Regions from separate parts of the Homo sapiens genome. Here region 2 is linked to region 1. Evidence: promoter capture Hi-C in 16 types of primary human blood cells and fetal thymus (Javierre and others, 2016). All regions are on one chromosome and are shown on one strand. Each heading gives the region's core, a stretch centred on a gene start or on the middle of the fragment in contact. The rest is flanking DNA. Distances are from core to core; before and after follow the strand shown. Region 1 holds the start of MALSU1 (mitochondrial assembly of ribosomal large subunit 1). Region 2 holds the start of IL6 (interleukin 6).

Region 1 (3,749 bases), core at 969-3,468:
ATATCTTAATGCTTAAGGTATGTCTTACAGAGTGAGTCTGAGTTTGTCATATGAAAAAATGGGAAAAGGGTGCTCTAAAAAGAGTAGTGGCCAAGCACGGTGGCTCACACCCGTAATCCCAACACTTTGGGAGGCTGAGGCGGGTGGATCACTTGAGGTCAGGAGTTTGAGACCAGCCTGGCCAACATGGTGAAACCCCGTCTCTACTAAAAATACAAAAATTAGCTGGGGGTGGTGGCACGTGCCTGTAATCCCAGCTATTTGGGAGGCCGAGGCAGGAGAATTGCTTGAACCCTGGAGGCAAAGGTTGTGGTGAACCGAGATGGTGCCACTGCACTCCAGTCTGGGTGACAGAGCGAGACTCCATCTCAAAAAAAAAGTATATGCAAAGCTTGGCATTGAAAGGATATGGTGAGGTTGCCAGGCATGGTGGCTTATGCCTATACTCACAGCTACAGTGGGGTAGATTGCTTAAGGCCAGGAGTTTGAAACCAGCCTGGGCAACATAGTGAGATCCTGTCTTTAAAAAAATTAAAAACAAAAATTAGCTGGCCATGGTTCCACATGCCTGTAGTCCTAGCTAATTGGGAGGCTAAGGCAGGAGCACCGCTTGAGCCCAGGAGTTTGAGGATGTAGTTAGCTATGATTGTGTGACTGTACTCCAGTCTGGGTGACAAGAGTAAGACCCCATCTCTTTAAAAAATAAAAATAAAAAAGGGTATGGTGAGTTTGAAAAACAGCAAAAAGCAGATAAAGCGAAAATGATTGTAGTTGATAGAAGGGCAGCATGGAGGATGAAAAGAGTAGAAACAGACTGGAGACAGGAAAGCCAGGTAGGAGGCAGTCTCTGTAATTAGGCAAGAACTAATGAGGGTGTGGACTAAGGAAGAAACAGTGGAAATGAAGACAAGAAGCTGAACTCACAGAAACATTTTGGAGGTCACATAAGCAGGATTTTGACAACAGATTCGTTTGTTGTATGAAGATCCTGGACTGAATGAAGTCTAGGGTTTGGGAGTTTTGAAGGGATAATGACCCATTAAATGAGCTGGCAAATACAGGTGGTAAAGCAGGTCTGGGATGTTCAGAGAAGGGTGGGAACACGGAATGGATGCCAGAAGCTGGGAGAAAAGCCAAGTTCATGCCTGTGGAAAAATGGAATTGAGGATGGGGCTAAAATTGGACAGAGGAAACTTAATCTGTAATGTTTTTCTTCTTTTCAAAAATAACTTGAAGTGGTTGTACATATCTGGTGTGATATACACAAATGCTTAATTTCTCTATTTTTAAAAAACTTCCCAAAATTAGTGCTTGGAATTATTTAAAATAATGTAGCAAACATTTTTGGAGTGCCTGCTATGTGTCTGGCACTGTTTCAGGCATTTGAAATATTTGCTCTCTATGAAGCCTTCCTTTCAGCAGTTAGCAGGCCTGGAGTTCAGAAGCCAGAAACTGGCTTCTGATTCTGACGCAGTCAGTAAGTGTATGACCTGGGCAAGTTGCTTCCCTGCGGCGTCCCACGCCCCCAAAACCCCCCACCCCCCCACCCGTGCCAGGAATCTATCGCAGTTCTCAAGTCCTGTGACTTAATACCGCAGCTGGCACCTCAGAATTCCTTATTCTTACAGAGCTGGTCCCCACAGTACCGCCCCTGGGCGTAAACTCCTCCATACAGGGAGTGTAGATGATGGGCTGACCTAAGAACGGTTTCCAAATGGTCCTTTACACCTCTGCCTCCCACCCCACTCTAGCCCAGGATAACAGATTTTCCTCGCGCAATTTCAAATTTGCAAGGGAATCTTGAATATTTTCTGGTAATGAGAGAGGGTAGATTATATGTCCTAATCCCAGCCTAATCAGATTAACAGCAACTTCTGGACATTCAGTACCAGGAACTGTTTTAGGTGCTGTGGAGAGAAGAGTTAAAAATGAAACAAAAATTATTGCCTTCATGAGCCTCACATTAGTGGACAGAGTCCAAAAAAAAAGTGACAACGTAATGCGCTACTGCGACACAAAGCAAAGCAAGGTGGGCAAGCAACACTAGTTCTTTATTCCCGCACGCCCTAATCCCCAAGTAGCTCTTCCGGGTCACTGCAGTCTTCACGGGCTCCAGACTCCGCCCATGGTCCGTCCTTCAGGCCTTGACTCCGCCCACGCATCGACGTAGAATTTCCCGGCCGGGCTCCATGAAGTACCACCCACCCGCGACGCCGACGCAAGGCTGCTGCTATGGGGCCGGGCGGCCGTGTGGCGCGGCTGCTCGCCCCACTAATGTGGCGCAGGGCGGTTTCCTCGGTGGCGGGGTCCGCGGTTGGAGCCGAGCCCGGGCTTCGGCTGCTGGCCGTGCAGCGGCTTCCCGTAGGAGCAGCGTTCTGCCGGGCTTGCCAGACCCCAAACTTTGTCCGCGGCCTGCACAGCGAGCCTGGGCTGGAGGAGCGGGCGGAGGGGACGGTCAACGAGGGACGCCCAGAATCGGACGCGGCAGGTACGGGCGTGGAGAAGAACGAAGGCGACCCTCTCCGGGCAGTCTGGAGTCAGGTCCCAGCCAAGGTGGCTCTGGGTTCCCCTCTATGTGCATTTCTCTTGGAGTCACAAAACTCCTGCACATCCAGAGCTGGAAGGGACTTCAAAGGTTGTTGGCGCCAACCTTCCCGTTTCACAGTGAAGAAATTGAGGGCAAGAGATGAACTGCAGAATCCCAGCCTCCCGGACGGCCATCTCCCACCCTTGGCATCACAGTCTCACCGTCCTCACTTCCTTTTACCCTCTTCCTAGGATCCTGGGAAATGGGTTTGTGGGGACTGTTGGGGCTTGAGGATTCTGAGGAGCCAGGGTCTGGGTGCGAAGGGGTGCGTAGGAAGCGCCAGTAGGAGATGGGTCCAAGTTAATATCCTCTAGTTATTGCTGACGTTTTTAGAAACTTAAGAATGGTAAACAGATCACATCTAAGAATGTAGAGTATGAGAGGGAGAGGCCTTAGTGGGCTTAGCTACTAGGTCCTTTGGAGTCGGCTTTAGAACTTGGGCGAGCTTTTAAATTTACAGCCTGTAATACTCCAAGCTGAAGATCAGAATATCTAAATCTTTACGGGAAAAAAAATTAGATTTTCATAGGTAACAGTTGTTAATAACCCGGTGGTTTTATATGAAAACTGGAAGGTTCAAAATAATAATTACTCAAAAATGTAGCTCTTTCAGTGACTGATCTTAGGCCACAGTAATTCTCCTAGGCCTCAGTTTCTTCATCTCTCAACTGAAGGTTGTGGACCAGATACTGCCTAAGAGCCCTTCCAGCTCACAATTCTGTGACCCGTTATGACTGAGATTCAATTTAATATGCTCCAGGATATCACCTCCTACCCATTTTGTGGTGCTGTTTTTCTTTGCACAGCATTTCTGTGATTGTGGTGTATTGCTCCTTTTAAGTATTAGTAGAAAGTCATTTGTCACTGGTGTCTGGTTCTACTTGCATATGGTTAATAGCGAAGGATGTATAGTGGCTCTGCGTAATCTGAGCACCCTGACCATAAAAGTTGAGCGGTGCTATGATACTACTGCCCAGGTTCACCTTCCAGGAGGCCTTTACCCTGCTATCTGTAAAAACACTTTGGATCTAAACACCCTCATGGAGGAACAGTCAGCTGCCGGCATCTCTGGGTGCATACACGTCTATCTGCTTGGCCATCCTGATACAAACAACTATTTGTGCATTTCAGATCATACTGGTCCCAAGTTTGACATCGATAT
Region 2 (3,340 bases), core at 151-2,650, 570 kb before region 1:
ACTTGAGTAAATGCCCAACAGAGGTCACTGTTTTATCGATCTTGAAGAGATCTCTTCTTAGCAAAGCAAAGAAACCGATTGTGAAGGTAACACCATGTTTGGTAAATAAGTGTTTTGGTGTTGTGCAAGGGTCTGGTTTCAGCCTGAAGCCATCTCAGAGCTGTCTGGGTCTCTGGAGACTGGAGGGACAACCTAGTCTAGAGCCCATTTGCATGAGACCAAGGATCCTCCTGCAAGAGACACCATCCTGAGGGAAGAGGGCTTCTGAACCAGCTTGACCCAATAAGAAATTCTTGGGTGCCGACGCGGAAGCAGATTCAGAGCCTAGAGCCGTGCCTGCGTCCGTAGTTTCCTTCTAGCTTCTTTTGATTTCAAATCAAGACTTACAGGGAGAGGGAGCGATAAACACAAACTCTGCAAGATGCCACAAGGTCCTCCTTTGACATCCCCAACAAAGAGGTGAGTAGTATTCTCCCCCTTTCTGCCCTGAACCAAGTGGGCTTCAGTAATTTCAGGGCTCCAGGAGACCTGGGGCCCATGCAGGTGCCCCAGTGAAACAGTGGTGAAGAGACTCAGTGGCAATGGGGAGAGCACTGGCAGCACAAGGCAAACCTCTGGCACAGAGAGCAAAGTCCTCACTGGGAGGATTCCCAAGGGGTCACTTGGGAGAGGGCAGGGCAGCAGCCAACCTCCTCTAAGTGGGCTGAAGCAGGTGAAGAAAGTGGCAGAAGCCACGCGGTGGCAAAAAGGAGTCACACACTCCACCTGGAGACGCCTTGAAGTAACTGCACGAAATTTGAGGATGGCCAGGCAGTTCTACAACAGCCGCTCACAGGGAGAGCCAGAACACAGAAGAACTCAGATGACTGGTAGTATTACCTTCTTCATAATCCCAGGCTTGGGGGGCTGCGATGGAGTCAGAGGAAACTCAGTTCAGAACATCTTTGGTTTTTACAAATACAAATTAACTGGAACGCTAAATTCTAGCCTGTTAATCTGGTCACTGAAAAAAAATTTTTTTTTTTTCAAAAAACATAGCTTTAGCTTATTTTTTTTCTCTTTGTAAAACTTCGTGCATGACTTCAGCTTTACTCTTTGTCAAGACATGCCAAAGTGCTGAGTCACTAATAAAAGAAAAAAAGAAAGTAAAGGAAGAGTGGTTCTGCTTCTTAGCGCTAGCCTCAATGACGACCTAAGCTGCACTTTTCCCCCTAGTTGTGTCTTGCCATGCTAAAGGACGTCACATTGCACAATCTTAATAAGGTTTCCAATCAGCCCCACCCGCTCTGGCCCCACCCTCACCCTCCAACAAAGATTTATCAAATGTGGGATTTTCCCATGAGTCTCAATATTAGAGTCTCAACCCCCAATAAATATAGGACTGGAGATGTCTGAGGCTCATTCTGCCCTCGAGCCCACCGGGAACGAAAGAGAAGCTCTATCTCCCCTCCAGGAGCCCAGCTATGAACTCCTTCTCCACAAGTAAGTGCAGGAAATCCTTAGCCCTGGAACTGCCAGCGGCGGTCGAGCCCTGTGTGAGGGAGGGGTGTGTGGCCCAGGGAGGGCTGGCGGGCGGCCAGCAGCAGAGGCAGGCTCCCAGCTGTGCTGTCAGCTCACCCCTGCGCTCGCTCCCCTCCGGCACAGGCGCCTTCGGTCCAGTTGCCTTCTCCCTGGGGCTGCTCCTGGTGTTGCCTGCTGCCTTCCCTGCCCCAGTACCCCCAGGAGAAGATTCCAAAGATGTAGCCGCCCCACACAGACAGCCACTCACCTCTTCAGAACGAATTGACAAACAAATTCGGTACATCCTCGACGGCATCTCAGCCCTGAGAAAGGAGGTGGGTAGGCTTGGCGATGGGGTTGAAGGGCCCGGTGCGCATGCGTTCCCCTTGCCCCTGCGTGTGGCCGGGGGCTGCCTGCATTAGGAGGTCTTTGCTGGGTTCTAGAGCACTGTAGATTTGAGGCCAACGGGGCCGACTAGACTGACTTCTGTATTTATCCTTTGCTGGTGTCAGGAAGTTCCTTTCCTTTCTGGAAAATGCAGAATGGGTCTGAAATCCATGCCCACCTTTGGCATGAGCTGAGGGTTATTGCTTCTCAGGGCTTCCTTTTCCCTTTCCAAAAAATTAGGTCTGTGAAGCTCCTTTTTGTCCCCCGGGCTTTGGAAGGACTAGAAAAGTGCCACCTGAAAGGCATGTTCAGCTTCTCAGAGCAGTTGCAGTACTTTTTGGTTATGTAAACTCAATGGCTAGGATTCCTCAAAGCCATTCCAGCTAAGATTCATACCTCAGAGCCCACCAAAGTGGCAAATCATAAATAGGTTAAAGCATCTCCCCACTTTCAATGCAAGGTATTTTGGTCCTGTTTGGTAGAAAGAAAAGAACACAGGAGGGGAGATTGGGAGCCCACACTCGAATTCTGGTTCTGCCAAACCAGCCTTGTGATCTTGGGTAAATTCCCTACCACCTCTGGACTCCATCAGTAAAATTGGGCGTGGACTAGGTGATCTCATAGATCCTTCCTGCTGGAACATTCTATGGCTTGAATTATATTCTCCTAATTATTGTCAAAATTGCTGTTATTAAGTATCTACTGTGTGCCAGGCACTTTAAATAAATATTGTGTCTAATCTTCAAAACAAATTTGCAAGGAAGGTTTTTGGAGATAAGGAAACTGAGACTCAGGATTAAGTAACACACCTAAAGTCACAGGTGAGCTTGGAACTGAACCCAAGTGTGCCCCCACTCCACTGGAATTTGCTTGCCAGGATGCCAATGAGTTGTAGCTTCATTTTTCTTAGAGACTTTCCTGGCTGTGGTTGAACAATGAAAAGGCCCTCTAGTGGTGTTTGTTTTAGGGACACTTAGGTGATAACAATTCTGGTATTCTTTCCCAGACATGTAACAAGAGTAACATGTGTGAAAGCAGCAAAGAGGCACTGGCAGAAAACAACCTGAACCTTCCAAAGATGGCTGAAAAAGATGGATGCTTCCAATCTGGATTCAATGAGGTACCAACTTGTCGCACTCACTTTTCACTATTCCTTAGGCAAAACTTCTCCCTCTTGCATGCAGTGCCTGTATACATATAGATCCAGGCAGCAACAAAAAGTGGGTAAATGTAAAGAATGTTATGTAAATTTCATGAGGAGGCCAACTTCAAGCTTTTTTAAAGGCAGTTTATTCTTGGACAGGTATGGCCAGAGATGGTGCCACTGTGGTGAGATTTTAACAACTGTCAAATGTTTAAAACTCCCACAGGTTTAATTAGTTCATCCTGGGAAAGGTACTCTCAGGGCCTTTTCCCTCTCTGGCTGCCCCTGGCAGGGTCCAGGTCTGCCCTC

The links. Contacts are between HindIII fragments. The CHiCAGO score rates a contact against its expected background, and 5 or more counts as called.
Region 2: the fragment with the promoter of IL6 here is called in contact with the fragment with the promoter of MALSU1 in region 1 in 3 of 17 cell types (neutrophils, M1 macrophages and M2 macrophages); the score reaches 5.5 in neutrophils.

What each region holds. Positions count from the first base shown.
Region 1 is chr7:23,297,121-23,300,869 of GRCh38, forward strand. MALSU1 (mitochondrial assembly of ribosomal large subunit 1) reads left to right here and starts at 2,219. Exons shown (of 4, transcript NM_138446.2): 1 at 2,219-2,488; 2 at 3,719-3,749. The coding sequence starts at 2,233. RefSeq lists an enhancer at 2,036-2,525. The HindIII fragment of the contact is 9,022 bases long and covers 390-3,749 here.
Region 2 is chr7:22,725,800-22,729,139 of GRCh38, forward strand. IL6 (interleukin 6) reads left to right here and starts at 1,401. Exons shown (of 5, transcript NM_000600.5): 1 at 1,401-1,482; 2 at 1,645-1,835; 3 at 2,894-3,007. The coding sequence starts at 1,464. It overlaps IL6-AS1 (IL6 antisense RNA 1), which reads right to left and starts at 1,821. Exons shown (of 2, transcript NR_131935.1): 1 at 1,769-1,821; 2 at 1-906. RefSeq lists a silencer at 816-865 and an enhancer at 851-2,050. The HindIII fragment of the contact is 10,105 bases long and covers 1-3,158 here.